Regions from separate parts of the Homo sapiens genome. Here regions 2, 3, 4, 5, 6 and 7 are each linked to region 1. Evidence: promoter capture Hi-C in 16 types of primary human blood cells and fetal thymus (Javierre and others, 2016). All regions are on one chromosome and are shown on one strand. The core of a region is centred on a gene start or on the middle of the fragment in contact, and the rest is flanking DNA. Distances in the headings are between cores, read along the strand shown. Region 1 holds the start of RDH16 (retinol dehydrogenase 16). Region 2 has its middle 2.4 kb from the start of PRIM1. Region 3 has its middle 45 kb from the start of HSD17B6. Region 4 has its middle 28 kb from the start of HSD17B6. Region 5 has its middle 61 kb from the start of HSD17B6. Region 6 overlaps HSD17B6 (hydroxysteroid 17-beta dehydrogenase 6). Region 7 overlaps PRIM1 (DNA primase subunit 1).

Region 1 (3,467 bases), core at 786-3,285:
ACTGATATTCTTTCTTCCACTTGAGCAAATTGGCTATTGAAGCTTATGCATGCATCCTGTAGTTCTCATGCCATGGTTTTCGGCTCCATCAGGTCATTTAAGGACTTATCTACACTGTTTATTCTAGTTAGCCATTCATCTAATCTTTTTTTCAAGACTGTTAGCTTCCTTGTGATGGGTTCCAACATCCTCCTTTAGCTCAGAGAATTTTGTTACTCTGACCTTCTGAAGCCTACTTCTGTCAACTCATCAAAGTCATTCTTCATCCAGCTTTTTTCTGTTGCTGGCAAGGAGCTGTGATCCTTTGGAGGAGAAGAGGCACTCTGGTTTTTTGAATTTTCAGATTTTCTGCTCTGGTATCTCCCCATCTTTGTGGTTTTATCTACCTTTGGTGTTTGATGTTGGCGACCTACAGATGGGGTTTTGGTGTGGATGTCCTTTTTGTTGATTTTGAGCTATTTCTTTCTGTTTGTTAGTTTTCCTTCAAACAGTTTCCTCAGCTGCAGGTCTGTTGGAGTTTGCTGGAGGTCCACTCCAGTCCCTGTTTGCCTGGGTATCACCAGCAGAGGCTGCAGAACAGCAAATATTGCAGAACAGCAAATATTGTTGCCTGATCCTTCCTCTGGAAACTTCGTCCCAGAGGGGCACCCACCTGTATGAGATGTCAGTCGGCCCCTACTGGGAGGTGTCTCCCAGTTAGTCTACACAGGGTTCAGGGACCCATTTGAGAAGGCAGTCTGTCTGTTCTAAGAGCTCAAACACCATGCTGGGAGAACCACTGCTCTCTTCAGTGCTGTCAGACAGGGATGTTTAAGTCTGCAGAGGTTTCTGCTGCCTTTTGTTCAGTTATGCACTGCTCCCAGAGGTGGAGTCTATAGAGGCAGAAAGCCTTGCCTTGCTGCAGTGGGCTTCGCCCAGTTTGAGCTGCCCAGCTGCTTTGCTTTCCTACTCAAGCCTCAGCAATGGTGAGCAACCCTCCTCCTGCCAGGCTGCTGCCTTGCAGGTTGATCTCAGACTACTGCACTAGCAGTGAGCAAAGCTCTGTGGGAATGGGACCCACCAAACCAGGCACAGGATATAATCTCCTGGTGTGCCATTTGCTAAGACCATTGGAAAAGTGCAGTATTTGAGCAGGAGTGTCTTGTTTTTCCAGGTACAGTCTGTCACGGCTTCCCTTGTCTAGGAAAGGGAAATCCCCTGACCTCTTACACTTCCTGGGTAAGGCAATGCCCTGCCTTGCTTCGGCTCACCCTCTGTGGGCTGCACGCACTGTCCAACCAGTCCCAGTGAGATGAACCAGGTACCTCAGCTGGAAATGCAGAAATCACCCATTTTCTGCATCAGTCACACTGGGAGCTGCAGACCGGAGCTGTTCCTATTTGCCCATCCTCTCCCTGCTTTCTTTACCTCTGAGGTTGGATTCTCCCTGTGGGATCCTGCAATCCTTCTGCCCCAAAAAACTATTATAGCAGGAGGGAACCTGTTCCTGCTCACTCTTTGCCTTCTCCTTCTCATCCTAGACAGCCTGACCGTGCCCTAGTTTTCAGAGGAGTGATTGATTCTGGGGTGCGGAGCAGGATGAGGAAACTCAGGCTCAGAGAGGGATTTCCACCTAATGTGCCTGGAAACCATGGGTAGCTACCCAATAAGGCCTTTCTATGTTCAGAAGGTCATGGACCAGGAGTGTTGGTATCGGAGCTTTGTAGAGACAGTTTTGACCCCTGTACTTAGAGCAGAGGGGTGTGTTTGCCATGGAGAGTGTGTGTGGGCAGCTGTGTGTAAGCCTGTGTGAGTTCTGTGTATGTTCCTGTGTGAATATATGTGTGTGCTCCTTCATGGACACAGCATGCATGTAGTGGGCATAGCAAGGCAGAGAGAAATCAGGAGACTAGGGGCACATTGCCCAGTAGGAAGATAGTATCTTCCTACTGGGCAGGACTTGAGGTGTGCAAAGGTGTGCATGAGTACTGCAAAAGCAGTTCAAAGAGCAGAGAGGTGGGGCCAGAATAAATATGTTGCAGAAAGGCAGTCATCAGGGAGGAAAGTGAGGATTCCCTGCCAAAATGCCTGAGGGCTTCCCTGCCTACCACAGCCCTCTGTGTTCTTAAATCCTCCTGTCTGAACAGAGGCCAGACTCTGGTTTCCCCCACAGCCTGTCTGTGTCTGTCCTCTGCAAAGCCATGTGGCTCTACCTGGCGGTTTTCGTGGGCCTGTACTACCTTCTGCACTGGTACCGGGAGAGGCAGGTGCTGAGCCACCTGAGAGATAAGTATGTGTTCATCACGGGCTGTGACTCTGGCTTCGGGAAACTGCTGGCCAGACAGCTGGATGCACGAGGCTTGCGGGTGCTGGCTGCATGTCTGACGGAGAAAGGAGCCGAGCAGCTGAGGGGCCAGACTTCAGACAGGCTGGAGACGGTGACCCTGGATGTTACCAAGACAGAGAGCGTTGCTGCAGCCGCCCAGTGGGTGAAGGAGTGCGTGAGAGACAAAGGTAACCACCCAGGTTTGTCAAGTCTGTCTGTGTCTTCCCTCTGTGTGAAGGGACCACCTCCTGTCTGCTCCCTGGGAAGATTCCTACAGTGTCTTTCCAGGTTGAAGTAACAGTAGCTTTCTAATATTTCTCACTTAACAGGCTGCCTGAACCCCATCTCTTTTCAATCCTTAACCTCTCCCGACATTGGAGGTGTCTAGTCTTGGGGAGAGTTTGCCCTGATGAGATTTTCTCTCCAGAATTCCTCTCTATCCTCTCCCTCCTGTCTAAGCAGAAGTCATGTGTTGTTTGATGCTAAGAGCCTGGGTTAGAGATCTGGAGACTTGCTGGAGCATCGTTGAGAAGGGAGCACAGGGCTGCAAGTGTGCACGGAGGCTGTGCCTGTGCTGGAGCCAGGCTTATGTTCCCAGCACTTTACCTTGTTTTTGCTAGGGCCCATCAGCGTCCACTGAGAGCTACGATCATCTCCATCTTCAGAGGAGAGTATCAGCTTAAGGACTGCTTAAGGAAGGCAGAACTAGTAAGGGGTTACTTTTTCTTTCTTTCTTCTTTTCACTACACTAATTCATCTGTCTTATTATAGAGGAAGAAAGAAACATGGATTTATTTTATGTAACAATAAATCAGAATATGATCTTTGTGGAAAACACTGAAAAGAATAAAGATGAAAACAAGTTTCCCTGAAATTGTCATCCACACATAAGTCCTTTTTACAATTATACAAAATTAGGATTTTATATTTTGTTCTTAGTTTCAGTCACCTTAAATTCTCTGGAGAAGATGAACACTTTTCCACCATAATGACTGTTTTTATAAAATTATATTTAATTATTTAGAATACTGTATCCTTCCAATAGCCTTACCTATGTAATCCATACTGAGTGGTTGGATATGAAATTCCTTCCTGCTTTTTATTCATCATAAATGTCATCTTGGTGGACTTTTATTTGCCAACGTCTCTGTAAGTGTGAGTA
Region 2 (3,152 bases), core at 307-2,806, 200 kb after region 1:
GACCATCCTGGCTAACATGGTGAAACCCCATCTCTACTAAAAAAATACAAAAAAAATTAGCCGGGCGTGGTGGCGGACACCTGTAGTCCCAGCCACTCAGGAGACTGAGGCAGGAGAATAGCGTGAACCCAGGAGACGGAGCTTGCAGTAAGCCAAGATCGCGTCACTGCACTCCAGCCTGGGCGACTGAAAAAGACTCCGTCTCAAAAAAAAGAAAAGAAAAGAAAAAGAAAATAGGGATGATGTTGGCAACTACCGCATAGAGTTCTCATGAGGGATAAATTCATAAAATGGTACCTGACATCATGGCAAAAGCTATATACAGGAATACCTCATTTTATTGTGCTTCACTTTATTATGCTCCAAAGATATTGCATTTTTTACACATTGAAGCTTTGTGGCAACCCTACATACAGTGAGTCTATTAGTGCAATTTTTCCAACAGCATGTGTTTGCTTCATGTCTCTATGTCACATTTTGGTAATCCTTGCAATATTTCAAACTTTTTCATTATTATTGTATCTGTTACGGTGATCCGTGATCAGTGATCTTTGAGGTACTATTGTAATTGTTTGGGGGTGCAACGAACTGTGCCTATATAAGAAGACAAACTTAATCAATAAATGTTGTGTGTGTTCTGACTGTTCTGCCAATATGCTGTTCTCCTCTCTCTCTCCCTCTCCTCAGGCCTCCCTATTCCCTAAGACACAACAATATTGAAACTAAGCCAATTAACAACCCTACAATGACCTCTAAGTATTCAAGTGACAAAAAGAGCCCCACATCTCTCACTTTAAATCAAAACGTAGAAATGATTAAGCTTAGTGAGAAAGGAATGTTGAAAGCTGAGACAGACCAAAACCTAGGCCCCTTGCACCAAGCAATTAGCCAAGTTGTAAATACGAAGGAAAAGTTCTGTTTTTTTGAGACAGGTCTCAGTCTGTTGCCCAGGTTGGAGTGCAGTGCCCTAATCTTGGCTCACTGCACCCTCCGCCTCCTGGGCTCAGGTGATCCTCCCACCCCAGCCTCCCAAGTAGCTGGCACCACAGGCCTGCGCCACCACACCTGGCTAATTTTTGTAGTTTTTGTAGAGATGAGGTCTCGCTATGTTGCCCAGGCTGGTCTCAAACTCCTGGACTCAGGCAATCCTCCCACCTTGGCCTCCCAAAGTGCTGGCATTACAGGCGTGAGCCACTGCACTCGGCCTTAAATTTGAGACAGAGTGTTACTCTGTCACCCAGGCTGGAGTGTAATGGCACGATACTGGCTCACTGCAACCTCTGCCTGTCTGACTCAAGTGATCCTCCCACCTCAGCCTCCTGAGCAGCTGAGGCCACAGATGCATGCCACCACACCCTGTTAATTTTTCTGGGCTTTTTTGTTTGTTTGGTTTGGTTTGGTAGAGACAGGGTTTTGCCATGTTGCCCAAACTGGTCTTGAACTCCCTGACTCAAGCGATCTGCCCACCTTGGCCTCCCAAAGAGCTGGGATTACAGGTGTAAGCTATCAGGCCTGGCCTGGAAAAGTTCCTTCCCGGAAAAGTTCCTGAAGAAAATTACAAGTGCTACTTCAGGGAACACACAAATGATAGGAAGGTGAAACAGCCTTATTGCTGATATGGAGAAACTTTTAGTGTGCTGAATAGAAGATCAAACCAGCCATAACTTCCCTTAAGCCAAAGCCTCACCCATAGCAAGGTTACTCTCTTTAATTATATGAAAGCTGAGACAGGTGAGAAAGCTGCAGAAGTTTGAAGCCAGCAGAAGTTGGTTCATGAGGTTTAAGGAGAGAAGCCATCTCCATAAGATAAAAGTGCTAGACAAGGCTAGAGGTAGTGGCTCACACAAGTAATCCCAGCACTTTAGGAGGCCAAAGCAGGTGGATCACTTGAGGCCAGGAGTTTGAGACCAGCCTGGCCAACATAGTGAAACCCTGTCTCTACTAAAAATACAAAAGTTAGCTGGGTGTGGCAGTGCACACCTGTAATCCTAGCTATTTGGGAGGCTGAGGCATGAGAATTGCTTGAGCCTGGGTGACCAAGGTTGCAGTGAGCCATGATTGTGCCACTGCATTCCAACCTGGGCGACACAGCGAGACTCTGTCTCAAAAAAATAAGTAAAATAAAATAAAACTATGTTTTTCATGTGACATGTTATTCATGTGACTGCCCACTCTAGCCCACAATTGCCATAAGGTATCATTACACAGTAAGAGTGATTGGCAGATCTCCACATCAATAGCAGATGGGTTCCCTTCATACTTGTAAAGCTCTCCATGATTCTGCAAGCTTCCTATAATTCATATTTTCTTATACCTGGGTGTTCTATTTGAGAGACTAAATATATGAACAGCAGCCAGACCATATATAAAAACAGAACTCTGACCCACAATCTACAGCAACCTGCTGGGGAAACCAACCCCCTTATCTATAATAAACAGCACAGGAAGCAAGCTTGCTACAAGTCAGACTTGTATAAAGTCAAACTGCTATCTCTAATGATGATCCTGGAGGCCAAACAACAACCCCTGTAGCAATGGGCCCAAATGCCTTAACTAGTATCCTACAGCTTCCTTAACAGCTTCCAACATAGGTCCAACCAAAGAAAGCCAAACACCCACCCCTAAACCAATCACATACCGCATCCTACTACTAGTTAGCCCAGGTACAGCTTCTCCATGCCAACAGCCTCCAATCAAAGAATACCTTGACGGCTTCCCTTTTTTATAAAGCTTTCCTACTCCTCTGCCTGCCTTTGAGTCCTGTCAAATGCAAGTGATGATGGCTGACTCCCTTGCTATAGTAAGCTCTGAATAAATAGCCTATGCTTTTCTCATTTGGTTATTTATTTCCACATATTGGATCTAGTAATTCATGAAATTCCATGAAGAACTAATTTCCAAAACTTTTTTTTTTTTAGACACGGTCTTTCTCTGTTGCCCAGACTGGAGTGCAGTGGCACTATCATGGCTCACAACAGCCTGGACCTCCCAAGCTCGAGAGATTGATTGCCCCCTCCCCCCACTCCCCGCCCCCAACCCTTCAGCCTCTAGGGTAGCTGGGACTACAGGCGCACGCAACTACATCTGGCTAGTTGTGTGTGGGTGCGTGTGTGTAGACAGAGATCTCACAATGTTGCCCCAACCGGTCTCGA
Region 3 (3,273 bases), core at 302-2,801, 150 kb after region 1:
GATCTGAACACCCATCAGGACAACCTGGCTGCAGAAAGGAGCTGCCCCCTGTGGGTTTCCTCTGAGATGTTATATTGCTCAATAAAGCTCCTCTTTGTCTTGTTCACCCTCCACTTATCTACGTACCTCATTCTTCCTGGTCTCAGTACAAGAACTTGGGACCCACTGAATGGTGAGGCTAAAAGAGCTGTAACACAAACAGGGCTGAGACATGCTTCCCCCTTGCTCTCCATGTTGCAGGCAAAGAGAAGGAAAGAAGAGCTGCAGCCCTTTGGGGATCCCAGACCTGGGAGCTCCCCAAGACTGGCCCGTGATTCCTTCTTTGGGGCCCTGCAGTTCCTGGCATCTCCAAGCTTCCAGCCACCACCATATTCCCTGGCGCCAGCCATGGAAGCTGCTTGCGGTGCACCTGGTCCAGCCTTAGCCTAGCAGAGAGCCAGTGCCCATGCCAGCACCTGAAGCTGCCTGGCCCACTGAAGCAGCTGGCATGTCTGACTGTGCACACTGGTCAGACCCCATGCTTGCTCATACACCCTACGCCATTCCGCACCTGACTCACCCTTAGCAGGCATGGGAACCAGGCCAGTAACGTAAGCTGAAAACAGCCTGCTGGGCCAAGTGGACAAAATGAGCCCAGCAGGCCCAAGCAAAACTCAGGCAAAGGCACCGCCAGCCACAGAGGTTTCCAGTGAGAAAAACAACACCCCAAAGATCCTGTAATATTTTGGGGGCTCATCCAGGATCTGTGGAAGGGTAAGTAAAAGCAGATCTGCTCTTTCTGTCCTTTTTTGGAGTCCCTAAATTCCACAATAGCTAAAATGAAAGAAAAATGCCAGCCTCTGTCAGCCAGTTAAAAGCAACTAGTGTGGCTGCTGGACTTAAGACACAGAGGACAGGCTCGCTGGGGAGGACACTGTCAATCCCCCATCACCCTCAGGTTTTGGGAATGTTGGCTTTATTCCAACCCGGTTTCCTTTCATGGAGGTCTAGCCACTGGGTGGAAGACAAAGGAGGTTGTGGGGCAACTCAGAGTATCTGGCTGAGGCTTCGCCTCGTTATCCAAAGGCCCCTGGACTAACTCCAGTCCCCGACTGCCCATTAGGGTGTTGCCACTAGAACCTCCCATCTTTCCTATCTTTCTTTCTTTCCCACTCTTTCTTTCTTTCACGGCTGTCAAAGTTCCTATCTCTACTTTATATACAACGTCGAATGTTAAGGATGTTGTTGCAAACCAGAAATATTACTGGGTAGAATAAGCATTTGGCTTAGTCTTCAAAAGTATAAAATGGAAGGTTAAGAGTAGCACAGATGAAGCAAAGTGGGCCTTGGTATCTGTACATAAATTTGTGGTGAAAATGTTCTTGTCATTTCCTTGGTTGCCAATTTAGTGCCAAGAACCTTGAGGCACAGAAAAGAAGCATGGCCCCAGGAAGGAAGCTTTTCTGTAAATGCAAGGGCAAATGGTCCAAGGTCCCATACATGCAGGCCTTTTTTGCCTTGCAGGGTAATCCAAACCTTTGCTGATGTGGTAGGATTGAATCAGCTCACCTCATGGCCATCTCAGGAGAGCCTGCAAAGGGCAATCCCAGGGAAATAGGGAAGCAAACCCCAGAGGTACCTCCAGTGGGGGAATCAACCCCCTCCACTGTTTTCTCTCAAGCTTGGCCCAGCCTAGAAATCCTCATTTTAGGCAGGTCCCAGTCACAACTGCCCCTACAACAGATGCCTGGTGAATATGGCCCCATTAAGGTCCAGGTTCCCTTTTCTCTACAGGACTTAAGGCAAATTAAGGGGGATCTTGGCAAGTTTTTAGACAGCTCTAACAGGTATATAGGGGCTTTCCAGAACTTAACCAAAGTATTTGAGCTCTCCTGGAAGGATGTCATGTTACTTGTTTTTTTTTGAGACAGAGTCTCACTCTGTCACCCAGGCTGGAGTGCAATAGCGTGATCTCAGCTCACTGCAACCTCTGCCTCCCAGATTCAGGCAATGCCTCAGCCTCCTGAGTAGCTGGTATTACAGGTGTCCACCACCATAACCGGCTAATTTTTGTATTTTTAGTAGAGACAGGTTTCACCATGTTGGCCAGGCTGGTCTCAACCTCCTGACCTCAGATGATCTGCCTGCCTTGGCCTCCAAAAGTGCTGGGATTACAAGTGTGAGCCACTGCACCAAGCCTCATGTTACTTTTGAATCAAACCCTGACCACCGCTGAAAAGCAGGCCACCCTGCAAGTGGCAGAGAATTTGGGGAATGAGCCATATATATATATATATATATATATATATATATATATATTTTTTTTTTTTTTTTTTTTTTTTTTTTTTTTAAAGACGGAGTCTCACTCTGTCACCCAGGCTGGAGTGCAGTGGTGCAATCTCAGCTCACTGCAAGCTCCACCTCCCAGGTTCACACCATTCTCCTGCCTCAGCCTCCTGAGTATCTGGGACTACAGGTGCCCACCACCATGCCCGGCTAATTTTTTGTATTTTTAGTAGAGACAGGGTTTCACCATGTTAGCCAGGATGGTCTCGATCTCCTGACCTCATGATCCACCTGCCTCAGCTTCCCAAAGTGCTGGGATTACAGGCGTGAGTCACTGTGCCTGGCCAATGAGCTTTATATCTTATATAGGACCAGGAAAGGGTATGAGACTTATCTGATTGGAAAAATAGCAGTACCATTGGAGGTTGAAAATTGGACCCCAATGATGAAATAGGAGAATAGAAGAGGAAACACTTTCAGGTGTGTATACCGGAGGGCTTATGAAGGACAAGGACTAAGGCCCTGAATTACACCAACCTATTCATGGTAGAATAGGGATTTGATGAGAATCCCACTGGCTTCCTGGAAAGGCTAAGAGGGAGGGGCCTTGGTAAAACACACCTCTCTATCTCCTGATTCAGTAGCAGAATAGCTGGTCCTAGGCACTGACTTTATCACACAGGTGGCCCCTGATGTCAGGAGGGGGCAGCAGAAACGGGCTGTGGGACCAGATGGTACTTTGGAGGGCTTCCTGGTAGGAGCCACGTTGGTCTTTTGCAGTGGGAACTGGGAGGAAGTCCAGAAAAGAGGGGAGATACAGGAAAAAGGCAGAGGCTCTAATAGCTGCTCTGTGGGCTCATGGACCCCAGAGTCCCTGATATGCACCTGTTGACTACTGCAAATGTGGCAGGCCAGGTCATTTTAGGAGGGACTGTCTGGACAGTGTGGGGAGGCCACCTCGACCCTGTCCAGTTTGTGATGAGGACAATTAGAGGGCGGACTATCCCT
Region 4 (3,524 bases), core at 614-3,113, 170 kb after region 1:
ACAAAAATTAGCCGGGCATGGTGGCACACGCCTGTGATCCCAGATACTCAGGAGGCTGAGGCACAGGAATCACGTGAACCCAAGAGATGGAGGTTGCAGCGAGCCGAGATTGCGCCACTGCACTCCAGCCTGGGTAACAGAGCAAGACTCTGACTCAAAAAATAAATAAATAAAAGTGCCTCCTTTCACTCTCAAAAGTAACCCATATAGAGGTCACCCATATAGGGGAAAGTCTGCTGTGGGGATTTCTGAGAAATCTTTTGTTCTCCTCATAGAAGATGATAGATGCAGACATCACCACCATTCTCCCTTATACCATCATTCTCTTTTGTGTGAAAGTTGCCAGAATCAAAATGGAGTCACTAATGTTTAAAGAAAGAAGAGCCCTGACAAATCAAGCCATAGAAGGCCATGAAGAGAAGGTTCTTTATGCTTGTATGCCTCACAAAAAAGACTCTGGAAAAATCATATCCTTGCACAGAAGCCACCAGAAATTTCCATAAAAAACACTGCAAGAACATCTGCCCCAGAACTGCCTGTCCAACCTGGACTGACATCATCCTTGTTATTGATCTTTGTAGCCAAATATAATTATTTTAAAACAATTGTGCAATTTCCCTCTTTTCTTTAAAAACCTTTGTCTTCCTTTACCTCCCTGAATATGCACGTAGTTTACTATGACGGGTATATTCTCATTGCAATACTCTATTCCCAAATAAATGTCTTTTTCTTTCAGAGAGCCTCCCTTTGTTATTTAGGTTGACTTATATGGTGTCACTTGAAAGTGATGTCTGGATCCGCAGCAACCATCTTACAACCTTGAAGTGACAAGCTGGAAGAAAAGGCCAGAAGATGCACATAGAGTTTAATCCTGACAGAGATGAGTTACTGAAGCAATGCCAGTGACCTCCTATCCGCTAATTTACTATTACCTAACAAACTTTTTTCTTTTTTTTTTTTTGAGACAGGGTCTTGCTCTGTCACCCAGGCTGGAGTGCAGTGTTGTGATCTCAGCTCACTGCAAACTCCATCTCCCAGGTTCAAGCGATTCTCATGCATCAGCCTCCTGATTAGCTGGGATTACAGGTGTGTACCACCACCCCTGGCTAATTTTTTTGTTTTGTTGTTGTTGTTGTTGAGACGAAGTCTCACTCTGTCACCCAGGCTGGAGTGCTGTGGCACGATCTCAGCTCACTGCAACCTCTGCCTCCCAGGTTCAAGTGATTCTCCTGCCTCAGCCTCCCAAGCAGCTAGATTACAGGCACCTGCCACCATGCCTGGTTAATTTTTGTAGTTTTAGTGGAGACGGGGTTTCACCTTGTTGGCCATACTGTTCTCGAACTCCTGACCTAGTGATCCGCCCACCTCGGCCTCCCAAAGTGCTGGGATTACAGGAGTGAGCCACCGCACCTGGCCAATTTTCGTATTTTTAGTAGAGACAGGGTTTGCCATGTTGGCCAAGCTGGTCTCAAACTCCTGACCACAGGTAATCCACCCCCACCTCAGCATCCCAAAGTGGTAGATTACAGGCGTGAGCCACCGTGCCTGGCCTAAGAAAACAAACTCTTACTTAAGTCATGCTATTTGAAGCCCGTTCTCCCACTTATGCACCAAACTGAATCCTCTCTCAACCTCCTTGCCATCATTTTAGCAATTCTCCAATCTCTCTCCTACATCATGACTTGTACTAAGTACCCAGTACAATAACTGAATAGAAGAGCTACCCCTATGTCCATCATTGTGAAGTTTTGGAACACCTGCAATAAAAGATAAAGATTCCAAATAAAATAAACATTTATGTACTTATCTTCTAAATAGAGCCTAAAACCTTCCATAGAATAGGGACAAAAAGGAACAAAGGAACAAGAATCAGAATGGCATTAAGGTTCTTAATGGATACGATAAGAAAGTGAAGCAATGTCTTTAAAATCCTGAAAGAAAATTATTTTCAACCCTAGAAGTCCATGCTCAGCTAATCTATTATAAGAACAGAGACCTTTTCTCTTTTTTTTTTTTTTTTGAGACGGAGTCTCACCCTCTCACTCAGCCTGGAGTGCAGTGGTGCGATCTCGGCTCACTGCAACCTCCACCTCCCGGGCTCAAGCGATTCTCCTGCCTCAGCCTCCAGAGTAGCTGGATTTCAGGTGCCCACCACTACACCCAGCTAATTTTTGTATTTTTAGTAAGATGAGGTTTCACCATGTTGGTCAGGCTGGTCTCGAACTCCTAACTGCAGGTGATCCACCCAGCTTGGCCTCCCAAAGTGCTGGGATTACAGGCGTGAGCCACCATGACTGGCCAACAGAGCACGCCTGGCCAACAGAGATCTTTTTTTTTTTTTTTTTGAGACAGAGTCTCACTCTGTCGCCCAGGCTGGAGTGCCGCGGCGCGATCTTGGCTCACTGCAATCTCCACCTCCCGGGTTCACGCCATTCTCCTGCCTCAGCCTCCCAAGCAGCTGGGACTACAGGCGCCTGCCACCACACCCGGCTAACTTTTTGTATTTTTAGTAGAGACGGGGGTTTCACTGTGTTAGCCAGGATGGTCTCGATCTCCTGACCTCGTGATCCGCCCTCCTCAGCCTCCCAAAGTGCTGGGATTACAGCTGTGAGCCACCGCGCCCGGCCAACAGAGACCTTTTTAAACATGCAAAGACTTAGCTAGTAAGAATGAGTTCTGTTAAAATAAAGGAGAAAACCAAGAGGCCATATGCTCCAGGAAGCAGGATTTCAGACAGCAGGAAAGAGATGTAGGGAAGTCCTAGAAAAATAATTGAGTAGCAGAACCAGAGAACAGCCAGCCCACACAGAAACAGGAGGAGAAAGCAGTGAGACCTCTCCCTCTCCCTCTCCCTCTCCCTCTCCCTTCCCACAGTCTCCCTCTCCCTCTCTTTCCATGGTCTCCCTCTGATGCCAAGCTGAAGCTGGACTGTACTGCTGCCATCTTGGCTCACTGCAACCTCCCTGCCTGATTCTCCTGCCTCAGCCTGCCAAGTGCCTGCGATTGCAGGCGGGCGCCGCCACGCCTGATTGCTTTTCATATTTTTTTGGTGGAGATGGGGTTTCGCTGTGTTGGCCGGGCTGGTCTCCAGGTCCTAACCGCGAGTGATCCGCCAGCCTCGGCCTCCCAAGGTGCCGGGATTGCAGACGGAGTCTCGTTCACTCAGTGCTCAATGATGCCCAGGCTGGAGTGCAGTGGCGTGATCTCGGCTCGCTGCAACCTCCACCTCCCAGCCGCCTGCCTTGGCCTCCCAAAGTGCCGAGATTGCAGCCTCTGCCTGGCCGCCACCCCGTCTGGGAAGTGAGGAGCGTCTCTGCCTGGCCGCCCATCGTCTGGGATGTGAGGAGCCCCTCTGCCTGGCTGCCCAGTCTGGAAAGTGAGGTGCGCCTCTTCCCGGCCGCCATCCCATCTAGGAAGTGAGGAGCGTCTCTGCCCTGCCGCCCATCGTCCGAGATGTGGGGAGCACCTCTGCCCCGCCACCCCGTCTGGGATGTGAGGAGCACCTCTGCCCGGCGGCGACCCTG
Region 5 (3,373 bases), core at 227-2,726, 130 kb after region 1:
AACTTACTACAAAGCTATGATAATCAAACCAGTGTGTTACTGACATAAAGACAGATACCTAGACCAACGGAATAGAATAGATAACACAGAAATAAACCCTTGCATATATGGTCAAATGATTTTTAACGAGGGTGCCAAGACCATTCAATGGGGAAAGGACAATCTTTTCAACAAATGGTAACGGGAAAACTGAATATTCACCTGCAAAAGAATGAAGTTAGACCTGTACCTTACACTATATGCAAAAATTAACTCAAAATAGATCAAAGACCTAAATTTAAGAACTAAAACTATAAAACTCCTAGAAGAAAATACAGGGAGATGGCCGAGTGTGGTGGCTCACACATGTAGTCCCAACACTTTGGGAGGCCACAGCAGGTGGATCACTTGAGCCCAGGAATTGGAGACCTGCCTGGGCAACATGGCAAGACCCCATCTCTACAAAAAATACAAAAATTAGCCAGGCATGGTGGCATGCACCTGTAGTTCCAGCTACTAGGGAGGCTGAGGAGGGAGGATTGTTTGAGCCCAGGAGGCAGAGGTTGCAGTGAGCTCTGATCATGCCACTGCACTCCAACCTGGGCAACAGAGCAAGACCCTGTCTCAAAAAACAAAAAAACAGGGAGAAAGCTTCATGACGTTGGATTTGGCAGTGATTTCTTGGATATGACACTGAAAGCACAGGCAACAAGAGGAAAAAAAATGGACACATTGGACTACATCAAAATTAGAAACTTCTGTCCACTCCTGAATTTTTGTTAATATATTTTGCTGCCGAAACAAAGAGTTTGCAGGTTTGGTATACCCTCTGATAGTGGGGGCATATTGACAGCTGCTATGTCCATCACAAACACATGCCTTCCTCTGCAAAAGAGTAACTGTGCAGCCAATTATCCTCAAATGACATGAACTTCTTCCTCGACATTTCTCCCTTAAATTTCCAGGGAAGATTTTGATTTATTTACTTAACAAAACAACCCTCGCAAATTTACCAGGTGGTTGAAAAATAATTATAATAGTAATAATAGGCCAAGTGCAGTGGCTCACACCTGTACTCCCAACACTTTGAGAGGCCAAGGCAGGAGGATCCCTAGAGCCCTGAAGTTTGAGACCAGCCTGGGCAACAGAGGGAGACACCATCTCTATAAAAAAAATTTTAAATTAGTCAGATGTGGTAGTACACCTGTAGTCCCATCTGCTCAGGAGGCTGAGGTGAGCAGATCACTTAAGCCCAGGAGTTTGAGGCTGCAGTGAGCTGTGATCGCCACTGCTGCACTGAAGCCTGGATGACTCTGCCTCTAAAAAAAAAAAAATTAATAGTAATAAGAAAATAATATTATAATGGACACTATCACAAAAGGCAAATACCTTAAACTATTCCTGCAGTGTTGTTTTGTCCAGGCCGAAACCAAAACTGGAGCCCCAAAGTCTGTAGCAGGGAAATTCCCAAGAAGGATTATCTGTAAACCATTTGGAGATGGGGCTGGTTGAGATTCCAAAGAGAGAAGCACTAAACACCAGGGTAATTAGTCTAAAGTATTTATCAGGGGAACTTACTTACAAAAGGGGCTGCAGGAATCCTCTCAACAGCAAGCGAAAGAGATGTTCCACCTAGCTATGTCTGCAATAAGGGGGTTGTGTTATGGAGTTTATATGAGGGTTTGAGGAGTTTGGTTAAGGGCTGGGGCTAGTTTCTTTCAGTGTTCTGGACAACAACCTAAACATGTTTACCAGAGCCTGGGAATGTTCAAGGACCTGACTTAACCCTGCAAAAAAACATGCAACTGGCCAGGTCACAGAGTGGTCAAGGCACTCTGTATTTCTTAGTCGGGATAGATAAAAAGGTTGGGAAAACTAGAGGACCCTATGAATGTATTAGCCAAATAGTATTTGATCAAAAGCATAAATGAAAATTGATGATCCCAAGCATTCATGTGGGAAATCAACTTTTTTTCCTAGAGCTTATCCAATAGTCTAGACAAAATTCTATTTCTGTAAAAAGTAATCAACTTATAAGATGTAGCTAAAAGAGTAATGATCAATATTGTTTCAGATTGCCTAGCACATTTTCTCATGTTCCAAATACAGATCTCTGTGTCCTCCCAGTTCACTCTCATCCAACCCAGCCCCCCCCCATGTCATTTAAACAAGGAAAAGATATGACTTTGCTTTTATTATCTAGGTTAGACAAAATGTTCCCTGAGTTTCCATCAAGTTTTAATTTTGCCAAAGAAATATAATCACAGTTTTCTTAAAAGCCTGTCCCAAGTAGTCATGCCTCTATCTCTGAATTTATTGGCTATCCGGTTATCTTAAGCTTTAACCAGCACAAGTTTCTTTGACGAATTCTTACTTGCATTTAGAAAGGTCATGTTCTTCAGTTTCTGGAGATTGCCTTGAGCTGAGAACAGGCTCCATCAAAGGTCATGGATGGCAGAATGGGCTGGCCATGAAAGACCTCTGAACTCCAGTGGAAAAGCAGATGGAACTTGGAAAGTAAACTAAGGCTACCTCAAAACAACGGCCTTTGTCTTAGGGCAGGCAAGTCAATAGATTATATGAAAATTGTTCTGGGCCGGGCACGGTGGCTCAGGCCTGTAATCCCAGCACTTTGGGAGGCTGAGGCAGGTGGATCACCTGAGATCAGGAGTTCGAGACCAGCCTGGCCAACATGGTGAAACCCCATCTCTACTAATAATACAAAAACTAGCTGGGCGTGGTGGCACACGCCTGTAATCCCAGATACTCGGGAGGCTGAGGCAAGAGGATTGCTTGAACCTGGGAGGTGGAGGTTGCAGTGAGCCGAGATAGCGCCATTGCACTCCAGCCTGGGTGACAGAACAAGACTCCGTCAAAAAAAAAAAAAAAGAAAGAAAAGAAAGAAAAAGGAAGGAAGGAAAAAGAAAGAAAAGAAAAGAAAAGTGAAGGGGTGACTTTCCCCTCCACAACTGTGGGTATTTCTAGTTGGGTGGGACGAGAGACTGAGAAAAGAAATAAGACACAGAGACAAAGTATAGAGAAACAACAGTGGGCCCAGGGGAACGGCGCTCAGCATACCAAGGACCTGCACCGGCACCGGTCTCTGAGTTCCCTCAGCTTTTATTGATTATTATTTTCATTATTTCAGCAAAAAGGAATGTAGTAGGAGAGCAGGGTGATAATAAGGAGAAGGTCAGCAAAAAACATGTGAGCAAAAGAATCTATGTCATAATTAAGTTCAAGGGAAGGTACTATGCCTGGATGTGCACGTAGGCCAGATTTGTTTCTCTCCACCCAAACATCTCAGCGGAGTAAAGAAAAACAAGGCAGCATTGCTGCAAACATGTCTTGCCTCCCACCATAGGGCGGTTTTTCTCTCATCTCAGAATTGAAC
Region 6 (3,133 bases), core at 498-2,997, 190 kb after region 1:
CTTTTTACGCCTCTGCATACACTTCTTTCTACTGGAAAGAAGTAGCCCTCATCTACTTGGCAAATAACACTCTTTTTTTTTTCTTTTTTTTTTTTTTTTGAGACAGAGTTTCACTCTTTTTGCCCAGGCTGGAGTGCAATGGCGCAATCTCAGCTCACTGCAACCTCCGCCTCCTGGGTTCAAGTGATTCTCCTTGCCTCAGCCTCCCGAGTAGCTGGGATTACAGGCACGTGCCACCAAGCCGGGCTAATTTTGTATTTTTAGTAGGGAGAGAGTTTTTTACCATGTTGGCCAGGCTAGTCGTGAACTCCTGACCTCAGGTGATCCACCCACCTTGGCCTCCCAAAATGCTGGGATTACAGGCATGAGCCACCACACCCAGCCATAACACTCATCTTTTAAGTCTCAGCCTAATCATCACTTTCATTCAGCAAACATTAATTCAACAACTACTTGAGTCAGACACAGTGTTAGGCACTGATACACAAGAGTGAACAATACATAGTCCATTTTTCATTGAATTCACAGTCTCATTATGAAGACTGACAACAATGCATTATAACAGAAGTAAAAACAGGAGGCTGCTGGAACACTCAGGAGAGGCTTCTAAGGCAGTTTAGAGAGGTCTGAGAAGCTTCCTAGAGAGAATAAAATATAAGTTGAGATCTACAGGTGTACTAGTCCGTTTTCACACAGCTATAAAGATACCACCCGAGACTGGGTAATTTATAAAGAAAAGAGGTTTAATTGATTCACAGTTCCACATGGCTGGGGAGGTCTCAGGAAAATTACAATCATGGTAGAAGGGGAAGCAAACACATGATGGCAGGAAAGCAAAAGCAAGCAAGAGAGGAACTACCAAACGCTTATAAAACCATCAGCTCTCATGAGAACTCAACATGGGGGAAACCACCCCCATGATCCAATCACCTCCCACCAGGTTCCTCCCTAAACACCTAGGAATTACAATTCAAGATATGATTTGGGTAGCGACACAAAGCCAAACCATATCAAAAGGATAATTAAAAAATAATAGCTAGGCCAGGCACACTGGCACATGCCTGTAATCTCAGCATGTTGGGAGGCCAAGGCAGGCAGATCACCTGAGGTCAGGAGTTTGAGATCAGCCTGGTCAACATGGCGAAACCGCATCTCTACAAAAATACAAAAATTAGCCAGGCATGATTGTGGGCGCCTGTAATCCCAGCTACTTGGGAGGCTGAGGCAGGAGAATCGCTTGAACCCGGGAGGTGGAGGTTGCAGTGAGCCGAGATCATGCCATTGCATTCCAGCCTGGGTGACAGAGCGAGATTCTGCCCATCTCAAAAAAAAAAAAAAAAAAAAAAAATTGCAACCCTTGCCGAGCACTTGCTGTGTATCAGGCTCTGTTCTAAGATGTCACATATATTAACTTTTTGAATTCTCACAAGAACCCTACAAGACAGGTCCCATCATTATTCCTCTGTGTCAGTTCAGATACCAAGACAAAATTAGACATGCAAGAGATTATGGGGGAAACACCCTCAGAGGACAAAGGGGGAAGGCACAGGAATAGGTGGTAATGCAGATCTGACACCTCGGGAAGGAGAGGGGAACAGAAGGAGGAGAAGATAGGAAGAGCTTTAGACTGTAGTAGAGCCCCAAGAAAGTCTCAGCCAGGCCCATGAGCCTGAGCAAAGACTGCCACTGGAGAAGTTCCACACTGGGCTGAACTGGTCCAGCTCCAGTACTGCCATCCTTCTGGTCATTGGCTGACCAGTGCCCAAGAGGAGCGTGCCTCAGTGTAAATACCACAGCAGATCGGAGGGTGCCACAACTGGAGGCTGGAAGTCAACCTCACTCCTCATAGCAGATTTTCTTGAGTGATCTGAGCAATGCACCTCAATGGCTGCCACACTGTTTCATAGGTGAGCACTGAGAGATTACATACAGTACTAGACAGAGGGGACAAAAAATGGTCCAGGCAAGAGACTTTCCTGCCCTGATTTAACCTGCCCCATGGTCTAACAGAATTGACTATACCCTCCTTAGTGTCCCCATTGTGGCCTGGGTTTATCATGATGCCTGCTGTACTTCATTGCACTGCTCTTCCCCATTTTTAGACTATAAGGCCCTTGAGAGCCCAGGTTACATATTAGTCTGCACCTGGCCCAGTGAATGGCACATAGCAGATACTTAATAAATGTTAGATAAATTAAGTTATACTAAGTAAAAATATCCTGATAAAAAATTGAGAGAAAAAAAGCAGGGAGAATGAGCCAGAGAAGTAGGAAAAAGCAAGCTGATGAAAGCCAAGGAAAGGGGGGCTTAATGAGGATCAGCAATGCAACCAGGAGGTCTGCTGGGTAATAGGAGGGCACTGGTGCTCTTAACGGGAAGACTCAGACAGTGAAGGGCACAGAAGCCAATCTTCAGTGGGCTGCTGCATGAATTGGAGGGCAGGAAGTGGAGCCGAGTGGAGACTCTTTTTCAAAAGCCTGGTCTGGGAAGGAGAGGAGAGAAGGCAGTAAGTAGCGAGAGGGCAACTTAGGGTGTAGGCAAGTAAAGTGGAAGGAGACAGTGAAAGGGAGAAAACAGTGGAGAGAGGCATATATTGCTCCTCCCTCCCCCACCATCTTCTCTTTCTCTCCTTTTCCCCTCTTCCCTCTGTCTCTCTCCTTCCTTCTCTGAAGCCCTTTGCCTCTCTCCAATCTGAGAGCTCTGTGTTCTCTAGCCAGCTGCCTCTGTTCTGCCTAAGTGGCATTCCCTGGTGCACTACAGTAACACAGAGAGCTTCAACCTGACTGTTTATTGACTAAAAGGTAATTTTCTGTTGCCAGTCAAAGATGAAAACGTATTTCCCCCATTAGAGAGAAGCTTGGCCCTCACAGTTTCCCCGGGCATTACTATTCAGCCATCGCATGCCTAGCAGCAAGAAGACCTGCAGAAGAGATACACCTGGCGGAATCCCAAACCCTAGGCCAAACCTGAATGTGCCTCGAATATTTCAAATGTCCAAATACCCGAAGTGGCGTGGCCTGCTTGCTTTTACAAACCATTCATCTGCAAAAGCTGTGCAATTACTTTACGTTTTTGCCTTTGACTCAAATTATTTATACACAGTACTTAAGCTGCTATTTCTTGATTTACCAAT
Region 7 (3,561 bases), core at 177-2,676, 220 kb after region 1:
TGGTCTCAGCTACTCAAGAGGCTGTTTGAGCCCAGGAGGTTAAGGCTGCAGTAAGCCTTGACCACACCACTGTACTCCAGCCTGGGTGTCAGAGAGAGACCTTGTCTCAAAATGAAAATTATGTGGCCGGGCGCAGTAGCTCACGCCTGTAATCCCAGCACTCTGGGAGGTCAAGGTGGGTGGATCACCTGAGGTCAGGAGTTTGGGACCAGCCTGGCCAACACGGTTAAACCCCGTCTCTACTAAAAATACAAAAATTAGCCAGGCATGGTGGTGCACACCTGTAGTCCCAGCTATTCAGGAGGCTGAGGCACAAGAATCACTTGAGCCCGGGAGGCAGAGGTTGCAGGGAGCTGAAGTTGCGCCACTGCACTCCAGCCTGGGAAACAGAGTGAGACTTCGTCTCAAAAAAAAAAAAAGTATAATTTCTTTCTTACTCTTTTTAAAGAACTATTATGAGGATTCTTAATTCCATGCAAACGTAGGATACTACTAAAATCCAAATTTTATGTGAAACTCCTTTCTTATTCTCAATCATATTTTCCCATTGGGTATCATTATAGGTTATATAATTAAATGGATGAATAAAATTGTATATTCTTTTTTTTTTTTTTTTTTTTTTTTTTTTTAGAGAAAGAGTCTTACTCTGTCACCCAGGCTGGTGTGCAATGGTGCAATCTCAGCTCATTGCAACCTCCGCCTCCTGGGTTCAAGCAATTCTCCTGCCTCAGCCTCCTGAGTAGCTGGAGTTACAGGTGCCCGCCACGACGTCCAGCTAATTTTTGTATTTTTACTAGAGACAGGGTTTCTCCATGTTGGTCAGGCTGGTCTCGAACTCACGACCTCACGTAATCCACCTGCCTCGGCCTCCCAAAGTGCTGGGATTATAGGCATGAGCCACCGCACCCTGCCTATATTAAATTTTTTGTTGTATACATTTTTTAAACTATTTTATAAATCAAAGAATACTTAATGCAGGCCAGGCGTAGTGGCTGATGCCTGTAGGCCCAGCACTTTGGGAGCCTGAGGCGGGTGGATCACCTGAGGTCAGGAGTTCAAGACCAGCCTGGCCAACATGGCGAAACCCCATCTTTACTAAAAATACAAAAATTATCTGGGCGTCGTGGCGGGCGCCTATAATCCTAGCTACTCGGGAGGCTGAGGCAGAAGAATCGCTTGAACCCAGGAGGTGGAGGTTGCAATAAGCCGAGATTGCCCCACTGCACTCCAGCCTGGGAGACAGAGCAAGACTCCATCTCAAAAAAAAAAAAACAAGAATACTCAATGTAAAAACTTCTAATAATCTCCAAAAGGGCGTGACCAGAGCCTGAGCAACACAAGACCTTGTCTCTACTAAAAATAAAAAATTAGCCAGCTGTGGTGGCACTCCCTGTGATCCCAGCTACTTGGGAGGCTGAGGTGGGAGGATCATTTAAGCCAGGGAAGTCAAAGCTGCAGTGAGCTGCAATTGCACCACTGCATTCTAGCCTGGGCAAAAAAGCAAGACAGTGTCTCAAAAATAAGACATGGGGCCGGGCACGGTGGCTCACGCCTGTAATCCCAGCACTTTGGGAGACTGAGGCAGGTGGATCACGAGGTCAAGAGATCAAAACCATCTTGGACAGCATGGTGAAACCCCGTCTCTACTAAAAATACAAAAACTTAGCCGGGCATGGTGGCACACACCTATAGTCCCAGCTACTCAGGAGGCTGAGGCAGGAGAATCGCTTGAACTCGGGAGGCGGAGGTTCCCGAGCCAAGATTGCACCACTGCATACCAGCCTGGCAACAGAGCAAGACTCAAAAATAAAGGCATGGACCGGGCGCGGTGGCTCACGCCTGTAATCCCAGCACTTTGGGAGGCCAAAGTGGGTGAATCATGAGGTCAGGAGTTTGAGACCAGCCTGGCCAACATGGTGAAACCCTATCTCTACTAAAAATACAAAAAATTAGCTCATTGTGGTGGCGGGCACCTATAATCCCAGCTAGTCGGGAGGCTGAGGTAGGAGAATTGCTTGAACCTGGGAGGCGGAAGTTGCAGTAAGCCGAGATCGCACCATTGCACTCCAGCCTGGGCAACAGAGTGACACTCTGTCTCAAAAAAAAAAAAAAAGAAAATATATGTATATATATTATATATATATATATAAATATAAAAGACTTGTATGAAAGAGAGTATCATATATCTCAATTTTTATTACATGCAAAAATAATATTTTAGCTGGGCATGGTGGCATGTGTCTGTAATCCCAGCACTTTCAGAGGCCGAGGCTGGGAGATCACTCGAGCTCAGGAGTTCAAGACTAGCCTGAGCAACAGAGTGAGACCTCGTCTCTACAAATACCAAAAAAAAAAAAAAAATTGGTTGGGCATGGTGGTACATGCCTGTAGTTATAGCTACTCAGGAAGCAGAGATGGGAAGATCCCTTGAGCCCAGTAGATCGAGGCTGCAGTGAGCCAAGACGGAACCACTGTACTTCAGTCTGCATGACAGAGTGAAATCCTGTCTCAGTAATAATTTCACCTTTTTTAATGTGACTAATATAGTATTTAAAAGTATGTATGTTTCTCTCATATTTCAATTGGGCAGCCCTAGAGAATTCTTATAAGAAACTTAGTTGTGTTTTCATGTTATTCTTGCTGCCAGTATGCTAATTATAATGTACATTCTTCATAATTTAGATTATAAGAAGACCAGTCTAGCACCTTATGTGAAAGTTTTTGAACATTTTCTTGAAAATCTGGATAAATCCCGAAAAGGAGAACTTCTTAAGAAGAGTGGTAAGACGCTATGCCTTTCCCTTCTATCTAGTTAGATCTTATTATTAGTAGAAATGAGCAATTTTTGAGTTCTAGTCTTTCTTTGCCCTCCTCCCAAAATTTACAGATTTATCTTACTATCCTTAATGTTTTGGAAATTGAGGTTCCTTAATTCAATTTAACACATAGTTATTAAACACATTCTAAGTATCAGGTCTATAAGGGAGACAAAGATGAATTAACATCATGCCTCCTTGCCCTTAAGAAGTACTAACTTGGCCAGGCACGGTGGCTCACGCCTGTAATCCCAGCACTTTGGGAGACCAAGGCAGTTGGATCACTTGAGGTCAGGAGTTCGAGACCAGCCTGGCCAACATGGTGAAACCCTGTTTCTACTAAAAATACAAAAAATTAGCTGGGCGTGGTGGCAGGCACCTGTAATCCCAGCTACTCAGGAGGCCGAGACATGAGAATCGCTTGAACCGGGGAGGCAGAGGTTGCAGTGAGCTGAGATCACACCATCGCACTCCAGCCTGGGCAACAGAGCAAGACTCCATCTCAAAAAAAAAAAAGAAGTACTAACTTAATACAAAAAAAAAAGTACAAAATGCTAAGAAAGAGATTTTATCTGATGGACTCTGAGATTTCATATGAAAATGGTGGTATCTGAACTCCTTTCAGTGTAGCTGCTGTAAGAATTCTAATCCCTAGCCGGGTGCAGTGGCTCACACCTGTAATCCCAGCACTTTGGGATGCTGAGGCAGGTGGATCGCCTGAGGTCAGGAGTTCAAAACAAGCCTA

What was found. The method cuts DNA at HindIII sites, captures the fragments that hold promoters and counts their contacts. A CHiCAGO score of 5 or more calls a contact.
Region 2: a contact is called between a fragment that was not itself captured here and the fragment with the promoter of RDH16 in region 1, in 3 of 17 cell types (M1 macrophages, M0 macrophages and M2 macrophages). The highest score is 7.4, in M1 macrophages.
Region 3: a fragment that was not itself captured here is called in contact with the fragment with the promoter of RDH16 in region 1 in 14 of 17 cell types (erythroblasts, total CD8 T cells, naive CD4 T cells and 11 more); the score reaches 13.1 in erythroblasts.
Region 4: a contact is called between a fragment that was not itself captured here and the fragment with the promoter of RDH16 in region 1, in 1 of 17 cell types (erythroblasts). The highest score is 5.1, in erythroblasts.
Region 5: a contact is called between a fragment that was not itself captured here and the fragment with the promoter of RDH16 in region 1, in 9 of 17 cell types (erythroblasts, M0 macrophages, endothelial precursors and 6 more). The highest score is 12.4, in erythroblasts.
Region 6: a contact is called between a fragment that was not itself captured here and the fragment with the promoter of RDH16 in region 1, in 15 of 17 cell types (erythroblasts, M1 macrophages, activated CD4 T cells and 12 more). The highest score is 16.0, in erythroblasts.
Region 7: a fragment that was not itself captured here is called in contact with the fragment with the promoter of RDH16 in region 1 in 2 of 17 cell types (erythroblasts and endothelial precursors); the score reaches 5.5 in erythroblasts.

Annotation. Positions count from the first base shown.
Region 1 is chr12:56,956,176-56,959,642 of GRCh38, reverse strand. It overlaps RDH16 (retinol dehydrogenase 16), which reads left to right and starts at 2,035. Exons shown (of 4, transcript NM_003708.5): 1 at 2,035-2,493. The coding sequence starts at 2,181. The HindIII fragment of the contact is 6,494 bases long and covers 45-3,467 here.
Region 2 is chr12:56,753,099-56,756,250 of GRCh38, reverse strand. No RefSeq gene overlaps it. Among named protein-coding and RNA genes, the nearest start is that of PRIM1, 2.4 kb to the right of the region's middle. The HindIII fragment of the contact is 1,467 bases long and covers 823-2,289 here.
Region 3 is chr12:56,806,499-56,809,771 of GRCh38, reverse strand. No RefSeq gene overlaps it. Among named protein-coding and RNA genes, the nearest start is that of HSD17B6, 45 kb to the right of the region's middle. The HindIII fragment of the contact is 223 bases long and covers 1,440-1,662 here.
Region 4 is chr12:56,789,913-56,793,436 of GRCh38, reverse strand. No RefSeq gene overlaps it. Among named protein-coding and RNA genes, the nearest start is that of HSD17B6, 28 kb to the right of the region's middle. The HindIII fragment of the contact is 7,319 bases long and covers 1-3,524 here.
Region 5 is chr12:56,822,685-56,826,057 of GRCh38, reverse strand. No RefSeq gene overlaps it. Among named protein-coding and RNA genes, the nearest start is that of HSD17B6, 61 kb to the right of the region's middle. The HindIII fragment of the contact is 1,687 bases long and covers 633-2,319 here.
Region 6 is chr12:56,769,664-56,772,796 of GRCh38, reverse strand. The region is part of intron 1 of HSD17B6 (hydroxysteroid 17-beta dehydrogenase 6); the gene reads right to left. Among named protein-coding and RNA genes, the nearest start is that of HSD17B6, 7.9 kb to the right of the region's middle. The HindIII fragment of the contact is 2,222 bases long and covers 637-2,858 here.
Region 7 is chr12:56,733,367-56,736,927 of GRCh38, reverse strand. It overlaps PRIM1 (DNA primase subunit 1), which reads left to right. Exons shown (of 13, transcript NM_000946.3): 12 at 2,683-2,781. Among named protein-coding and RNA genes, the nearest start is that of NACA, 9.8 kb to the right of the region's middle. The HindIII fragment of the contact is 5,821 bases long and covers 1-3,561 here.